6 separate regions of the Homo sapiens genome follow, and regions 2, 3, 4, 5 and 6 are each linked to region 1. Evidence: promoter capture Hi-C in 16 types of primary human blood cells and fetal thymus (Javierre and others, 2016). All regions are on one chromosome and are shown on one strand. The core of a region is centred on a gene start or on the middle of the fragment in contact, and the rest is flanking DNA. Distances in the headings are between cores, read along the strand shown. Region 1 holds the start of CNNM3 (cyclin and CBS domain divalent metal cation transport mediator 3). Region 2 has its middle 28 kb from the start of ARID5A. Region 3 has its middle 47 kb from the start of ARID5A. Region 4 has its middle 12 kb from the start of FAM178B. Region 5 overlaps KANSL3 (KAT8 regulatory NSL complex subunit 3). Region 6 overlaps FER1L5 (fer-1 like family member 5).

The links. Contacts are between HindIII fragments. The CHiCAGO score rates a contact against its expected background, and 5 or more counts as called.
Region 2: a contact is called between a fragment that was not itself captured here and the fragment with the promoter of CNNM3 in region 1, in 17 of 17 cell types (M2 macrophages, M1 macrophages, neutrophils and 14 more). The highest score is 13.6, in M2 macrophages.
Region 3: a fragment that was not itself captured here is called in contact with the fragment with the promoter of CNNM3 in region 1 in 13 of 17 cell types (M1 macrophages, M2 macrophages, total CD8 T cells and 10 more); the score reaches 10.2 in M1 macrophages.
Region 4: a fragment that was not itself captured here is called in contact with the fragment with the promoter of CNNM3 in region 1 in 7 of 17 cell types (non-activated CD4 T cells, naive CD8 T cells, total CD4 T cells and 4 more); the score reaches 7.9 in non-activated CD4 T cells.
Region 5: a contact is called between a fragment that was not itself captured here and the fragment with the promoter of CNNM3 in region 1, in 17 of 17 cell types (naive CD4 T cells, total B cells, naive B cells and 14 more). The highest score is 9.9, in naive CD4 T cells.
Region 6: a fragment that was not itself captured here is called in contact with the fragment with the promoter of CNNM3 in region 1 in 1 of 17 cell types (neutrophils); the score reaches 5.6 in neutrophils.

Annotation. Positions count from the first base shown.
Region 1 is chr2:96,814,944-96,817,596 of GRCh38, forward strand. It overlaps CNNM3 (cyclin and CBS domain divalent metal cation transport mediator 3), which reads left to right and starts at 1,325. Exons shown (of 8, transcript NM_017623.5): 1 at 1,325-2,559. The coding sequence starts at 1,335. RefSeq lists an enhancer at 472-591 and silencers at 932-1,911, 1,922-2,061, 2,072-2,181. The HindIII fragment of the contact is 9,370 bases long and covers 1-2,653 here.
Region 2 is chr2:96,562,957-96,565,609 of GRCh38, forward strand. No RefSeq gene overlaps it. Among named protein-coding and RNA genes, the nearest start is that of ARID5A, 28 kb to the left of the region's middle. RefSeq lists enhancers at 1,352-1,852, 1,923-2,423. The HindIII fragment of the contact is 4,621 bases long and covers 1-2,653 here.
Region 3 is chr2:96,582,037-96,584,689 of GRCh38, forward strand. It overlaps a transcript of KANSL3 not described here. Among named protein-coding and RNA genes, the nearest start is that of ARID5A, 47 kb to the left of the region's middle. The HindIII fragment of the contact is 3,643 bases long and covers 1-2,653 here.
Region 4 is chr2:96,997,558-97,000,210 of GRCh38, forward strand. No RefSeq gene overlaps it. Among named protein-coding and RNA genes, the nearest start is that of FAM178B, 12 kb to the left of the region's middle. The HindIII fragment of the contact is 4,040 bases long and covers 1-2,653 here.
Region 5 is chr2:96,628,874-96,631,526 of GRCh38, forward strand. KANSL3 (KAT8 regulatory NSL complex subunit 3) reads right to left here. Exons shown (of 21, transcript NM_001115016.3): 3 at 2,439-2,609. Among named protein-coding and RNA genes, the nearest start is that of KANSL3, 8.1 kb to the right of the region's middle. The HindIII fragment of the contact is 1,114 bases long and covers 795-1,908 here.
Region 6 is chr2:96,684,784-96,687,436 of GRCh38, forward strand. It overlaps FER1L5 (fer-1 like family member 5), which reads left to right. Exons shown (of 53, transcript NM_001293083.2): 21 at 546-646; 22 at 1,157-1,334; 23 at 1,412-1,567. Among named protein-coding and RNA genes, the nearest start is that of FER1L5, 43 kb to the left of the region's middle. RefSeq lists an enhancer at 1,135-1,860. The HindIII fragment of the contact is 6,129 bases long and covers 1-2,653 here.

The DNA of each region.
Region 1 (2,653 bases), core at 75-2,574:
AGTTTTTTACAAAGCCTTTTCCTTTGGTCACTCACCACCAGCTTACTCATTTTTTTTTTTTTTTGCACATTACCTTCCACACAAGTTTTACTTTGTGGCCACAATGTGCATACTTTTTTTGATTGTTACTTTCATGACATAGCAAATTGTTTCTATAGAGTCTTTATAAAGGTCATTTAAAATGACATGTGCAGTAAGTCAAAGTCTTCTTGTGCTAGGAAATTTGAAAAAACAAAAGTGTAGAGAAAAATACAAAAATTACTGAATCTGAACATCTATAGAGAAGTGTTGTTAGCAGTTGGTTTATTTCCTTCCAATCACATACAGATCATATCTGATGGGTAAAGAATATTCCATACTGTCAACAGACCACACTGTCTTCTAAAATCGCTTCAGCAGTGAGGATCCTCTGGAATAGATCTTGTTAATCCTGAGGAATTATTCTCCCAGCGGTGAGCTATGAGAAGTGGAATCACCAGATGTAGTAATTCCTGACAGAACTGCCGCCTGCTTGTGTGGCTGAGATGCTGACCTAGGTATCAGGCTGGTCGCGCCGGAACCCAGCACCCACGCTGAGTCTTTCTGAGCTCCACTCTGCTCCTGTTAGATATTAACCACCTGAGGTAGCTGTCCAGATTCAAGGCGGTAGTGATTTTGTGTGTCTGTGTATTTATCACGGGGTCCGCGGCGGGAACGCAGGGGCTGTGTCCCACGTCCCCAAACCTCTAGTAGGGTACGGCGCGATGAACATCTTCCATAAACCTTAAACCTCCCGGCGCTCAGTCACTGGTTCTTATTTCAGCCCTCTTAGCCCCGTAGGTCGGCGCGCTGAAAACCTTTCTGGTACCTGGGGCCTTTCCTAAGAAAAAGGCACATGTCTCGCACATTTCAGTCTGGTCTGCAACTTCAGGCGCGCCAGCACCCGAGGTTCTTCCGACCGGCCGCTCCGCTCCCAAGCCGGGAACTTCCCAGAGAATTGGCTCGGCCTCCGGGCGCGGGGGACAGCATCGGGAGGAGTGGGACTCCGGGCGCCGCGCACGGGCCGAGGACAGCCGGGCTTGGGAGGCCCTGCCCGCCGCCCCGCGTCCTCCCGGCCACTGCCACCCCGCGCATCCGGAGCCGCAGCAGACTCGGCGGGGCCCGGAGCCCCACGCCCCCGGCCCGCCCCTGGCCGCCACTTGTTTACTCCCCGGCGCAGCCTAGTCCGACCCTGGGGCCCGCCCCCGCCCACCGCCTATTGGCCGAGGAGGCGCGAAGAGCCGTAACGATTGGCCCGGGGAGGCGCGGGGCGAGCGGGGTAGGCTGCGCGAGAGGCCGAGAGGGGGCAGCAGGCGATGGCGGCGGCGGTAGCTGCGGCGGGTCGGTTAGGCTGGTTGTTCGCCGCGCTCTGCCTGGGCAACGCCGCGGGGGAGGCCGCGCCGGGCCCGCGAGTGCTGGGCTTCTGCCTGGAGGAGGATGGAGCGGCGGGCGCGGGTTGGGTACGCGGAGGGGCGGCGCGGGACACGCCGGACGCCACCTTCCTCCTGCGCCTCTTCGGCCCGGGCTTCGCCAACAGCTCTTGGTCCTGGGTGGCCCCGGAGGGGGCGGGCTGCCGGGAGGAGGCGGCCTCCCCCGCGGGCGAGTGGCGCGCGCTGCTGCGCTTGCGCCTGCGGGCCGAGGCCGTGCGCCCGCACTCGGCGCTGCTGGCGGTGCGCGTGGAGCCGGGTGGCGGGGCGGCTGAGGAGGCGGCGCCGCCCTGGGCTCTGGGCCTGGGGGCGGCCGGGCTGCTGGCGCTGGCAGCGCTGGCGCGAGGCCTGCAGCTGAGCGCGCTGGCGCTGGCGCCTGCCGAGGTGCAGGTGCTGCGCGAGAGCGGCTCGGAGGCGGAGCGTGCGGCGGCGCGGCGTTTGGAGCCCGCGCGGCGCTGGGCCGGCTGCGCCTTGGGCGCGCTGCTGCTGCTGGCCAGCCTGGCGCAGGCGGCGCTGGCGGTGCTGCTGTACCGCGCGGCCGGCCAGCGTGCGGTGCCCGCCGTGTTGGGCAGCGCGGGGCTCGTGTTCCTGGTGGGAGAGGTGGTGCCGGCCGCCGTGAGCGGGCGCTGGACGCTGGCGCTGGCGCCGCGAGCGCTCGGCCTCAGCCGCCTGGCCGTCCTGCTCACTCTGCCCGTCGCGCTGCCCGTGGGGCAGCTGCTGGAGCTGGCGGCGCGGCCCGGGCGGCTGCGGGAGCGGGTGCTGGAGCTGGCGCGCGGCGGCGGCGACCCCTACAGCGATCTCAGCAAGGGCGTGCTGCGCTGCCGGACCGTGGAGGACGTGCTCACGCCCCTCGAAGACTGCTTCATGCTGGACGCCAGCACCGTGCTGGACTTCGGCGTCCTGGCCAGCATCATGCAGAGCGGCCACACGCGCATCCCGGTGTACGAGGAGGAGCGCTCCAACATCGTGGACATGCTCTACCTCAAGGACTTGGCCTTCGTGGATCCCGAAGACTGCACGCCGCTCAGCACCATCACTCGTTTCTACAACCATCCGCTCCACTTCGTCTTCAACGACACCAAGCTGGACGCTGTCCTGGAGGAATTCAAGCGAGGTAACGGCCCGGGCATGGTGCAGGGGACGCCCGTGCGAGTGCCCTCTCCCTGAAAAGGGGTGGAGAGTTATGGAAGCCTTCTGGAAAGGGTCCC
Region 2 (2,653 bases), core at 100-2,599, 250 kb before region 1:
CTAGCGCTGTGAGACCCATACTGGACTTCGGACCTCCAGAACTGCAATATAATAAATTCGTGTTGTTTTAGGTCACTAGGCTTGTGGTAATTTATTAGAGCAGAAATAGAAGACTAATACAGTGAGGGGTGTAAATAATCTGTGGCCAGCAGGCAGACTGTGGTAGCGGAAAATATGCCCACAAAATCTTGTACTCCTTTCAGAAAGTGGAGCCTAATTCCCTTCCTCTTGAGTGTGGGCTGGAATTAGTGACTCATCTAACTAATGAACTGATAAAATAAGGCAGAAGTGATGGTGTGTGACTTCTGATACCAGATCACAAAAGGAGCAGCTTAATGGAAGTCTGGGACAGCTCCCCATGCCATCGTGGGCTCAGAAATGGACGTACTAACTTAGGGACACCCATGTCAAACAAAGACCACACCAACAGCTTATGAAAACCAATGAGTGATTTGGAAATGATCAGAGGGATCTGATGAATGGTTTGTTTTACAACTTACATCACTTGGCAAGCAGTTTTATAAGAAATAGTTGTCCCTCAGTATACATGGGGAATTGGTTCCAGGACTCTCCCCCCATACCAAAATCCGTGCATGGCCAAGTCCAGAAGTTTGCCCTGCAGATCCCTCCTATATAAAAATTCTGCCCTCTGACGAGGCGAGTTTTTGCATCTTGAGAATACTGCATCTTCCACCTGTATTTGTTTGCAGATAGGGAATCAGTAAATACCAAGAGCCGACTACATCTTTTGAAAAAAATCAAAATATAAGCGGACCCAAGCGCTTCAAACCCATGTTGTTCAAGGGTCAACTGTGTTTATATTATTTAGAGAATAAAAAATATATATTTTATATTTAGATTATTGTAGTTATTACATATTTGACCATCACTCCTATGTAAATATTTCTTCCTTTCCAAACCCCTTGTTTCATCCCCTTCCTTTCCTTTTAAGCACTGGTCTCTGTGCACAGAATGCCAGGGATAGACTAACACAAACTGTCGTGAGAAACAGAAAGAAAAGCTGGCTGCTTCTCAGCACTTGTCAGTGGGACAACACAGGGCCATCCTTTGCCCTTTTTGGGAAGAAGGGAGGTCCTGAGAGTAGCCTTCTATGCAAATTGAGAACTTTGAGAAGTGGGTTGGTGGAATGATGTCCCTGTCCCTCTGAAGCAGGGTCCAGTCTCAGTGCCACAGTGCCCACCATGGAAACATGGCCCCAGGCCCATGACACTAGGACATGTCTCCTGCCTGGTTCCCTGGAGGGCGAGGCTGGGCCGTGACCGCCAGCTGTAGCATTCAAGTCTGGAAGCCTGGACCAACAATAGGTTTTGTGCCTGGTTTTGTGTGAATTTGCATCAACCTTGTTGCAGACTCCTTGACGCCTTCCCCTTCAAACACAGATGCCTGAGCCTTGGCCAGCTGATCAAATGCTTCTTTTGATCACTGACATCTTTGTGGCTGCAGTAGCCAGCCCATGGCCATCTCCAGAGTGGTCCAGTACTACCCGACCCCTGCCAGGGAGGGGCACCATCTAACTGGACTAATGGCGCTCAGTCAGGGTCATCGCTGTGCTCCGGGGAGACCCTGCATATCCCAGAGGATCCTAAATGTTTTCTGGAGTTGGAGAGAATTCCGAGAATCCTCCTCATAAATCCTTCTTTGGATATAAGCTAGCCAGATGTCGTTTCTGCCATTTGCCACTCCAACACCATCAGCCAGATATCCAGGTGTCCCAGATGGTGAACATTCAAGAGCCCCAGCCATGGGTCCAGGCAGCAGAGGCACGTCTATGGAGATAGGCTGGGCCTTGTCCCCTGCCAAGTCAGTGATGAGTGGGAGGACTCACTGGCCCTTGCACTGAGCAAGGCCACCTGACAGGCCAGCCTAATCACCCCCCTGTGGCCAATATAAGGATATTGATCTTTAGTGGCCAGAATCTCTCCTCCATCACTTTTTATGTATTTTGTTGTTGGTGGTGGTGGTGGGGTGTGTGTGTGTGTGTGTGTGATTTTCTGCCGAGTCCTTCATCTTGGATCCTCCACCACTTTTGCCAAGGAACACCTTCCAGCTCACAGGTAAGGGAAGAACTCTTTCCAGACAATAAGTCAGGAACCTCTGACTTGTGATGAGGAGAGGAGGGCTTGCCACATAGTGTAGAATTTAAGTCACTCCAGAATTTTCAGGACGATGGCTTTGGATCCAGCTACACTCAAGAACTAGGACCAAGAAGCAGATCTGATTGGTATTCCCTAGGGAAAACCTAGCCGTCATTTGCATGCAAACAATGCCTGGCATGTACGAGGCAGCCCTTTCAGGCTTCTCTGCCCCGTTGTTGGGCCCTGTCAAACCTGTGCTTGTATAGAAAGCAATGGGATGCTAAATCAGATAGAGTGGGATTAGAATTTGCATGAGAGAAAGGGAAAGGGAGGGGCAGGAACGAGGGAGAGAGCTGAAATCTGTCCTCCCTAGGAGAGTGGCTTCCATTGACAGGCAGGGAGAATGAGGGAAGGTCATCAGAAACACCAGATGCAAGTCTGTCACTGATGGCTACCCAATATCCTTGAGGGCATCTGGACCGCCCCCATTTTGGTCCTTTCCTATATTTTGAGTACCATCTTCCCAAGGGACAAGCTATAAAAACCTGCATTCCCAA
Region 3 (2,653 bases), core at 50-2,549, 230 kb before region 1:
GTTATTCACTATTTTCAATTTTATTTTTCTCTCCCCCAGATAACTTGTTTTTGTTTTAAAAGTCAGTAACTCGGCCAGGTGCGGTGGCTCACATCTATAATCCCGGCACTTGGGAGGCCAAGACGGGCGGATGACTTGAGGCCAGGAGTTTGAGACCAGCTTGGCCAAATGGTAAGGCTGGTGAAACCCCGTCTCCACTAAAAATACAAAAATTAGCCGGGCATGGTGGCACACGCCTGTAATCCCAGCTACTCTAGAGGCTAAGGCAGGAGAATCGCTTGAACCCAGGAGGTGGAGGTTGCAATGAGTGGAGATAGTGCCACTGCACTCCAACCTAGGGAACAGAGTAAGACTCTGTCTCAAAAAAAAAAAAGAAGAAAATCAATAACTCTTTTGTAACTTCCAATCTGCTATTAAGCCCATCCACTGAATTTTCTATTTCAAGTATTTAATTTTCCAGTGACAGAATTTCCATTTGGCTTTTTCTAGTTTGGACTTCTCTTCTGTACTTCTTACCACTTTCTTCATTATGAGCACTTTCCTTTACATCCTATAGCGTAATATTAAGAGCTGCTTTAAATTCCTTGCTTGCTAATTCCAATGTCTGCATCATCTCTGGGTCAGTCTCAATTGATTGCCTTTTCTCTTGAGCATGGGTAATATTTGCCTCTTTACTGAATAATTTGGGATCATATTCTGGACATATCATATGTTCCAAAAATGTTGGATTCTATAATGTTGCTGAAAAATACTGATTATTCATGCTAATAGGCAGGTAAGTTTACTAGACTCAAACTGCATATTGCTTGCCTGCAGTTGAAGGCAGCTGAAATTTCAGTTCAATTCTTTTAGCCTTAGCTGGACTGCTGGAAGTCTAACACACACATGTGTAGTTTAGGAGCTACAGGAAGGTTTGGACACAGTGTGCAGAATATCTGAGGCTCACTCTCTTCTTCCTGTGAGTATCCCCTCACTTTCCAGCTGCAATGGTCAACCCAACCTCTGCTATTTTGTTCTGCAAGCTGGACAGAATGGTTACAGCAGCACATTTCTGAGTTTTAGCTGCTCTGCATGGTACAGACTATGGTTTGCCCTCAGACTACAAGCCATACAAACAAAATTCACTGTTTTACTCTATCTAAGTGTCACCCACCTTCCCATTATCTGTCTGATTCTGTGGCTCTCCAGCAGCTTATGGGAAGTTTTCTATTTTTTTATTTATAGTTATTACATGTGCATGGAATGGTCTGGTAGGAGCTACTTGGCTATTACCAGATGTGGGCCCCTTCTCACTCAACTGAGTCTCAACATTTGTATACATCCTTGTAATGTCCATCCAAAACAAGATATAGAACATTTCCCCCCGACGGAAAAAGTCTCTGTACTCCTTTCTGGTTACAGTCTCTCTCAATCATGATCTGACTTCTATAACCGCAGACTAGTTTTGTTCAAATTTGGATTTCCTATCAGTGGAATCATACCGTGTAGTCTTTTGGGTCCAGCTTCTGCCATTCAGCATGCTATTGAGATTCATCCAGGTCATTGCATGTCAGTGGTTCTTTTCATTACCAAATAGTGTTCCACTATATGAAAATACTGCAATGTGTATATCCATTTTCCTATTAAGGGACATTCAGTCTATTTTCAGTTTTGGGCTATTATGAATAAAGCTGCTATGAATGTACTTGTAGAAGTCACTACTTTTGTGGACGTAAGTTATCATTTCTCTTTTGTATATACGTAGGAGAGGAATTGCTCAAACAGTTCTTCAAAGTGGTTTACTATAATAGACTACCACCAGCAATGTCTAAGAGTTCCAGGTGTTCCTTATCCTTGCTAACACTCGGTATTGTTGTTAATTTTAGCCATTCTAGTGAGTGTAAAGTGGTATTTTATTGGTTTAATATTGCATTTTACTCATGACCAGTGATACTGAAAACTCTTTCATGTGCACATTGGCTACTTGGATATCTTCTTGTGGAATGTCTCTATTTAAGCCTGCAAATATTTATTACATTTAAATCATGATTTGTAGTAATTCTTTTATGTATTCTGGTTATATGTGTGTCCTCGGTCAAATACATATTACAAACATTTTATCTGAGTCTGTGGTGTGTCTATTCTTTTTTCACTTTTATTTTTAGAGACGCTCTTGCACAGGCTGGAGTGCAGTGGTGACTCATGGTGCCCTGCAGCCTTGAATTCCTGGGCTCAAGAGATACTCCCACCTCAGCCTCCCAAATTGCTTAGATTACAGGCATGAGCCACTGCACTCGGCCAGCTTTTATTATTTTTAACTGGCATATAATTGTATGTATTTATGGGGCAGAGTACAATATTTCAAAGCGTGTATACAATGTGTAATGATCAAATCAGGATAATTGGCATATCCAGCACCTCAAAACATTTCTCATTTCTTTATCCTGGGAACATTCAAAATCTGGTTTTCTAGGAATTTGAAAATCTATAATAAATTGTTAATTATAGTCAGCCTATAGTGTTATAGAACACTAGAAGTTATTCATCCCACCTACACTCCCTACTTCTATAAGATCAGCTTTTTTAGCTCCTACCTGTGGGTGAGAACACGCAGTATTTTTCTGTCCAGACTTACTTCACTTAACATGTCCTCCAAGTTCATCCATGTTGCTGC
Region 4 (2,653 bases), core at 108-2,607, 180 kb after region 1:
GACAGGAGGGGTGCGAAACAGGGAGTCCCAAAGGAGGTGGTTGTAAAATTGAGTGTGGGAGTGGATGTCAAGGCCCTTAATAGGGGCCACTCCAGGGACTATTGCTGGGGAAGAACCGACAGACATGAGAGAGAGACGGGAGGGGGATTCCACTGTGTTAACTCAGAGGATGACCCCATTTACAAGGTGAGTGGGGTGAAGGTGAGCTCAGCTGGAAGCCATGCCAATTTTGTTTGTTTACTGCAAAAATACTTTATTTTATATATCACTAGCTGTGAATTTTTGTCATTAGTTGTTGTATGAATGCTGCCTAGTGCCATTAACCAAATGGCATGACCATTTTACGTCCACAATTCACTTCTGTATTGACAGAATTTTCTCTCTCTTTTTTTTTTTTTGAGACAGTCTCACTCTGTTGACCAGGCTGGAGTGCAGTGGCGCCATCTCCACTCACTGCAACCTCCACCTCCCAGGTTCAAGGAATTCTCCTGACTCAGCTTCCCTAGTAGCTGGGATTACAAGTGCTCACCACCATGCCCAGCTAATGTTTGTGATTTTAGTAGTGATGCGGTTTTGCCATGTTGGCCAGGCTGTTCTCAAATTCCTGACCTCATGATCAGCCTGCCTCGGCCTCCCAAAGTGTTGGGATTACAGGCATGAGCCACCGTACCCAGCCTACAAACAGAATTTTCATGATTGATGTAAGTAAACCTGTCAGTGAAGATTTACCATTGAGATGCAGTCTAACATCCGTAACATCTGATGTTTTGCAGACAGCAATGTAGGAGAGACTTTTTTTTTGAGACAGAGTCTCCCTCTGTCGCCCAGGCTGGAGTGCAGTGGGGAGATCTCGGCTCACTGCAAGCTCCGCCTCCTGGGTTCACGCCATTCTCCTACCTCAGCCTCCTGAGCAGCTGTGACTACAGGCGCCCACCACCACGCCTGGCTAATTTTTTTGTATTTCTAGTAGAGACCTGGTTTCACTGTGTTAGCCAGGATGGTCTGGATCTCCTGACCTCGTGATCTGCCCACCTCGGTCTCCCAAAGTGCTGGGATTACAGGCCCGAGCCACCGCACCCGGCCGGAGAGATGTCTTTTTAATCACCTTTCATTTAAGTGCCCTTATGTAAAAAAATAAATAATTTGGAAGTTCTAAGTCTCCAAAGGACATTTTTAAACGTACATATAGAAATGGTTACAATGGGCTGGGCACGGTGGCTCACGCCTGTAATCCCAGCACTTTGGGAGGCAGAGGCGGGCGGATCACGAGGTCAAGAGATTGAGACCATCCTGGCCAACATGGCGAAACCCCGTCTCCAATCATGGATTTCTGTGCTTGCTTGAATTTGGGGATTTCCCTTCTGCTCTTCATCCTTTGTATTTTTAGTAACTAAAAATACAAAAATTAGCTGGGCGTGGTGGCGCCTGCTTGTAATCCCAGCTACTCGGGAGGCTGAGGCAGGAGAATCACTTGAACCTGGGAAGTGGAGGTTGCAGTGAGCCGAGATCGCGCCATTGCACTCCAGCCTGGCAACAAGAGCGAAACTCTGGCCGGGCACGGTGGCTCACGCCTGTAATCCCAGCACTTTGGGAGGCCGAGGCGGGTGGATCACGAGGTCAGGAGATTGAGACCATCCTGGCTAACACGGTGAAACCCCGTCTCTACTAAAAAATACACACACACACAAAAATTAGCCGGGCGTGGTGGCGGGCGCCTATAGTGCCAGCTACTCAGGAGGCTGAGGCAGGAGAACGGCGTGAACTCGGGAGGCGGAGCTTGCAGTGAGCCGATGGCGCCACCGCACTCCAGCCTGGGAGACAGAGGGAGACTCCGTCAGAAAGAAAGAAAGAGAGAAAGAGAGGAAAAAGAGGAAAGAAAGGAAAGAAAGGAAAAGTTCCAATGGGCCAGACGCAATGGCTCATCCCTGTAATCCTAGCACTTTGGGAGGCTGAGGCGGGTGGATCACCTGACTTCGGGAGTTTGAGACCAGCCTGACCACCATGAAGAAACCCCATCTCTACTAAAAATACAAAAAATTAGCTGGGCGTGGGGGCGCATGCCTGCACTTCCAGCTACTGGGGAGGCTGAGGCAGGAGAATCGCTTGAACCCAGGAGGTGGAGGTTGCAGTGAGATGATATCACCCCATTGCACTCCAGCCTGGGCAATAAGAGCGAAACTTTGTCTCAATAAATAAATAAATAAATAAATAGAAATAGTTACAATGAAAGCTGGGTGCGGTGGCTCACACCTGTAATCCCAGCACTTTGGGAGGCCAAGGCAGGTGGATCACCTGAGGTCAGGAGTTCGAGGCCAGCCTGGCCAACATGGTGAAACCCCGTCTCTACTAAAAATACAAAAATTAGCTGGGCATGGTGGCAGGTGCCTGTAATCCCAGCTACTCCGGAGGCTGAGGCAGGAGAATGACTTGAAACCGGGAGGCAGATGTTGCAGTAAGCTGAGATCGTGTCACTGCCCTCCAGACTGGGCAACAGGGCGAGACTCTGTCTCAAAAAAAGAAAAAGAAAAAAAAAGAAAAAAAAAAAGAAATGATTACGAGCCTTTTTTTTTTTTTTTTTGAGGCAGGGTCTTACTTTGTTGCCCAGGCTGCAGTGCAGTGGCATAATCACAGTTCACTGCAACCTAGACCTCCT
Region 5 (2,653 bases), core at 102-2,601, 190 kb before region 1:
CTTGTTCAGCCACCACTAACTGGTCTTAATCTCTTCTTACTGCCCTTAATTAAGGCAGAGGGTATGGTAGTTGAGAACACTGGGTTCTGGAGTCAGGCTGCTTGGTTTGAACAAAATCCTTCTCCATCACTTCCTAATTAAGGTTTCTTAAACACCCTGAGCTCAGTTTCTTCATCCTGTTGAGCAGAGATGAAGGGGGGATATACCTCCAAGAGTCATTGGGAGGATTAAGAGACAATGCATTTGAAGAGACATTGATACAATGTCTGGCACCTAGAAAGCACTCAACAAACGGTAGCTCCTTTTTGTTATTACCATCGTCGTTATTTTTTATTATTAACTGTAAAAATAGTGATAAATCCTTTTGCTGAATATACTGACTCTAGCAATATTCCAGTAGTTGATCTTCATTCGTAGCAGTTTTCTTCTTTATCTGAAGCTCAAAAGAGCTTTTTTTTCTTTTTTTGAGATGGTGTTTCACTCTTGGTGCCCAGACTGGAGTGCAATGGCACGATCTCGGCTCACCACAACCTCCGCCTCCCAGGTTCAAGTGATTCTCCTGCCTCAGCCTCCCGAGTAGCTGGGATTACAGGCATGCGCCACCACACCCAGCTAATTTTGTATTTTTAGCAGAGACAGAGTTTCTCCATGTTGGTCAGGCTGGTCTTGAACTCCCGACCTCAGGTGATCCACCCGCCTCAACCTCCCAAAGTACTGGGATTACAGGCGTGAGAAAAGAGCTTCTTAAGGCACTAAATTAATTCCAATGCAAGACCCCAACCAACTTCTTCACAAGCTTTTTCAACCAAGGTGCAGAACTGCTCCTCCCTCAACAGCTGCTGTTTTGATCACACAAGCACACCTGTTCAATCTCATTCCCAACTTCCAACCAGCTTCAGAAGTCATGTCAATCACCTCAAACTTTCTACCCCTCTTTCTCTCTATTATAAAATAAGGGTTCTCCAAAATTATGGAAAGTTACCACCTACCAACTCCTGATATAAGAAGTAACATTTCCTTATATATATAGTAGATATATGGATACACAGACAAAAAGCCATCAACAAAATATAAGTTGAAACCACAATGAGATGCCACTTTACACGCAGTAGAATGGTTATAATTTTTTTAAAAAAGAAGAAAATCAGTAAGTGTTGGCAAGGATATGGAGAAACTAGAACTCTCATACACTGCTGGTAGGAATGTAAAATGGTACAGCCACTTTGGAAAACAGTCTGGCAATTCCTCAAAGGTTAAATACAGAGTTATCATATGACCCAACAAGTCCACTCCCAGGTATATAACTAAGAGAATTAAAAACTTAGATCCACACAAAAACTTGTATGCAAATGTTCATAATAGCATTATTCACAATTGCCAAAAAATGAAAACAATCTAAATATCTATCAACTGATTAATGAATAAATAAAATGTGGGCTATCCATACAATGTAATGTCATTTGGCAATAAAAAGCATGAAGTGCTGATACACGCAACCACATGGATAAACCTTGAAAACATCATGCTGGGTGAAAGAAGCCAGTAGGAAAAGACCACATATTGCATGATTCCATTTATATGAAATGTCCAGAATAGGCAAATCTATAAAGACAAAAGTCAATTAGTGCTTCCTAGGGACCAGAGAAGCTGGGAGGAAACGGGAAGTAACTGTTTATGGGTAAGAGGTTTCTTTTTAGGATGATGAAAATGTTTATCAAATTGATAGTGGTGATGAATATACAACTCTGACTATACTAAAAACCAATGACTGTACATATTAAATAGCTGAATTGTATGGTATGTAAATAATATCCCCAAAAAGCTGTTATGTAATTAGGTAAATGTTTACCAAATGAACAGGGACAAATAACCAGGAGAGGAGTGCTGAGTCCCCTGGGGGCAGTAGAAAGCTTGGGAACAAAACTAGCCAGTATACTCGTGAAAATAGGCTTCAGTGTGCCCTCCATAGCCTGCAAATCTATTTTTAAAAGCCACTCAAACATCTGTTAGCTTTTCATGTGACTTCACAACTTCCATCATCCTAGTTATAAACCATTTAAACACAATATCTTACAAATGTACATTTCATTTTTTTGCAGTTTGGGTAACCCCTATATCATAACTTATACAACAGAAGCTACTACAGAGCTAGTCATATGTATCAAATTTAATTCACTTATTTATTCAACAAACATTATATGCCTACTGTGTGCCAGACAACGTCCTAGTGTGAAGTATGCAAAGATGGCTGAGATGTAAGCCCTACTCTCAAGGAGCTCACACACAGCATGGTGAACTGAGAGTTATAATGTGAGACTTTGGAGAACACTCTGACTTGTGTTGCTGCAAATGAAATAAGGTCCTAATAAGTGTTATTTCAATGAAGATGATACAAAATAATTACAGGGCAGTGATCATCCTCCTGATGAGCAGCCTACCTGTTGACATGCTCCTCCCAGTCCTCTGGTGGAGGAGGGGCATCTGCATCAGTCCTGGCAAAGATGACATGCCGTTCACACTCATTCATCACGCTGCGTGCCTTCTGATTGTCATAGAGTGGCATAGGCGTTGATGTGACCGTCTCCACATCTATTGGGACGTCTGATTCACTGTAAACAGGTGAGGAAATAGGACCGGGCCACACATACTTCAC
Region 6 (2,653 bases), core at 99-2,598, 130 kb before region 1:
AGGTGTGCACAAAGGAGATGACACATCAGCAGGGTTTTGAAGAATGCATAGGATTTTGTTGGGGGCTGGGTGGGGGTAGAAGGGAATAACCTGCAAAGCCGCGGCAATGTGCTGGTTTCTGAAGTTCGGCAGGATCTGGGGGAGGCATGGAGGTGACATGAAGATAAGACCATAGAAGCTGGAAGGAGTGAGATCAGAAACTGTCTCAAGTGCCTGTTGGGAGTGTAGTTCTCGGGAGCCACCTGGGGCTGGCACCTCTGGCATGACTTTCTCATGCCTATGTGGAGGTCAGGGCTCTGCACTGCTTTCCCAGTCTTACCCCATCCCGGCTTCTTGCCACCTGTTTCTTCTGTTGGGAAGCAGGAAGGATGTGGGGGGTTCCTAGCCTCGGAGTTGTGGACAACCTTGAACTGATATCACCAGGTTATCCCTCAAAGTTCCCAAGGTCGTGGCTGAAAACATCTTGGGCCAATCAGCCCTGTGGCCTGTCCAGCTGGGCTCCATGCTGAGGCGGGCTCTCTCACCATTTCTCTCCTGCTGGGCAGAAAGCCAACCTGGACACCCTGAAATCCACGCGGAATCCGAAGGATCCAGCTCTCCTCTACCAGTGGGAGAAACTGCTGAGGGAGCTGGCAGAGGACTGCAAGTAGGAGTAGGGGCACTCCGGGATACAGCTGGCCTGGAGCTGAGCCAGATCTGGGCCTGGGGACTCAGCGCAGTGCCCTGAACACCTCCCCCCGCCCTCCTCGGGGAGGAGCACTGCTCAGACCTCTCCCCAGCGGGAAACCCCAAGAGTCGCTTCTCCCTTCCCATTCAGGCCCCCTGACCGCCCCATCAGAATGGTCCCTGCTACCCCACACCCACACCCGAGGCTCCTCTTAAGCCAGCCTGTCCTCTTCCTCCAGACAAGCCCACATAGCCCCACCTCCCTGCAGGCCCTGGGAGGAAGGGAGAGGACTGGATGAGAACCCAGGGCTGGACACACAGCGAGCAGGCTTCCTATGGAGCAGTGGGAAGGGCTCCTGGGCCAGGCTAGCAGCAGATGGGGGCAGGATCTTGAGGCCAGGAGGGGCACGCTGGCCTAAGGCAGGGCAGGAATGGTGACACTGGGAGGCAGTAGAGAGGTCCAGCCCCTGCTACCCTGTCCTGGCCACAGGCGCCCTCTGCCCTGCATGACCTATCAGCCCAAAGCCACCAGCCTGGACAGGAAGAGGTGGCAGCTCCGCAGCCTCCTCCTGCAGGAACTGGCCCAAAAGGCCAAGCAAGCCAAGCCCAAGGACATGGTGGCCACAGCGGAGGACTGGCTGTACCGCCTCAACACCGTGCTCCCTGAGGTGGGTGCTGCACACACTGGCCTGCAGCAGGGCTGGGAGCCAGCCGCGCAGGGCCTGACATTCTCCCACCTCGGCAGCCCCAGATGGGCCTCCCTGACGTGATGATTTGGCTGGTGGCCAAGGAGCAGCGAGTGGCCTATGCACAGGTGCCTGCCCACTCCGTCCTCTTCTCCCCGGCAGGGGCTCTGCACTCCGGCAGGCTCTGTGGGAAGATACAGACACTCTTCCTACAGGTGGGAATCAGGGACTCCTCAGGGGAGGACAGGGCTGAGAAATGCCCCCAGGGGAGCCCCCTGAACTCGCAGGGCAGCCCCTATGGGGCCTGTTTTCCTGGTCCCTTAACCACATGGAATGGGGTTGAAACAGTCCCCAGAGGAAGAGAGGGGTCTGTGGCTGTCAGCATGTTGGGTGATGCCAAGTCCATGTACCTCCTAAATGTTCCCCAAATCCACCTCCTCGCTGGGCACGGTGGCTCACAGGTAATCCCAGCACTTTGGGAGGCTGAGGCGGGTGGATCACCTGAGGTCAGGAGTTTGAGACCCAGCCTGACCAACTTGGTGAAACCCCGTCTCCACTAAAAATACAAAAAAATTAGCTGGGCATGGTGGCGCATGCTTGTAATCCTAGCTACATGGGAGGCTGAGGCAGGAGAATCGCTTGAACCTGGGAGACGGAGGTTGCAGTGAGCTGAGATCGTGACACTGTTCCAGCCTGGGTGACAGAGCGAGACTCCGTCTCAAAAAAAAAAAAAAAAAAAAAAAACAGAAAACAAATCCACCTCCTCTATCATCCTCATGGCCACCATTTGGTCCAGCCCCTTGTCATCTCTTCCCTGGACCGTGACGGGGTGATCTCCAAAATATTTAATGTCTATAAGGTTTGGTACCAGCCCATCATATCAGATGCAAGCTATAAATAAGACTAAACACCCTGACCACCACCCCCACCCCTGGCTGTGACAGTGGCCTCCCTGCTTCTAATCCTCCCTGGGGGGACGTGGGGGCCACTCCCTCCCCCTTCAGAGACTCCCTGGCTCCCCACTGCCTCCTGGAGAAGGTGCCGCCTTGCCACCTGGCCCCTGGCCCCTGTTCCTGCATCCATTCTCTCTGGCCCATACTCTCAACAGTAAGGACACTCTGGGCTTTCCTGGCCCCAACTGTACCTGCCCTTTGCCCTCTCCACCAACACGCAAGGCTCCTTCCATGACCACCAGAGTCCTTCGCATCCCGCAAGAGCCCCTGAGACATGAATCCTGGCTCTGTGTGGCCCTAGGCCAACTCCTGGCCATGCCCAGCCCTCAGCATGCTGCTCTGTAGAAT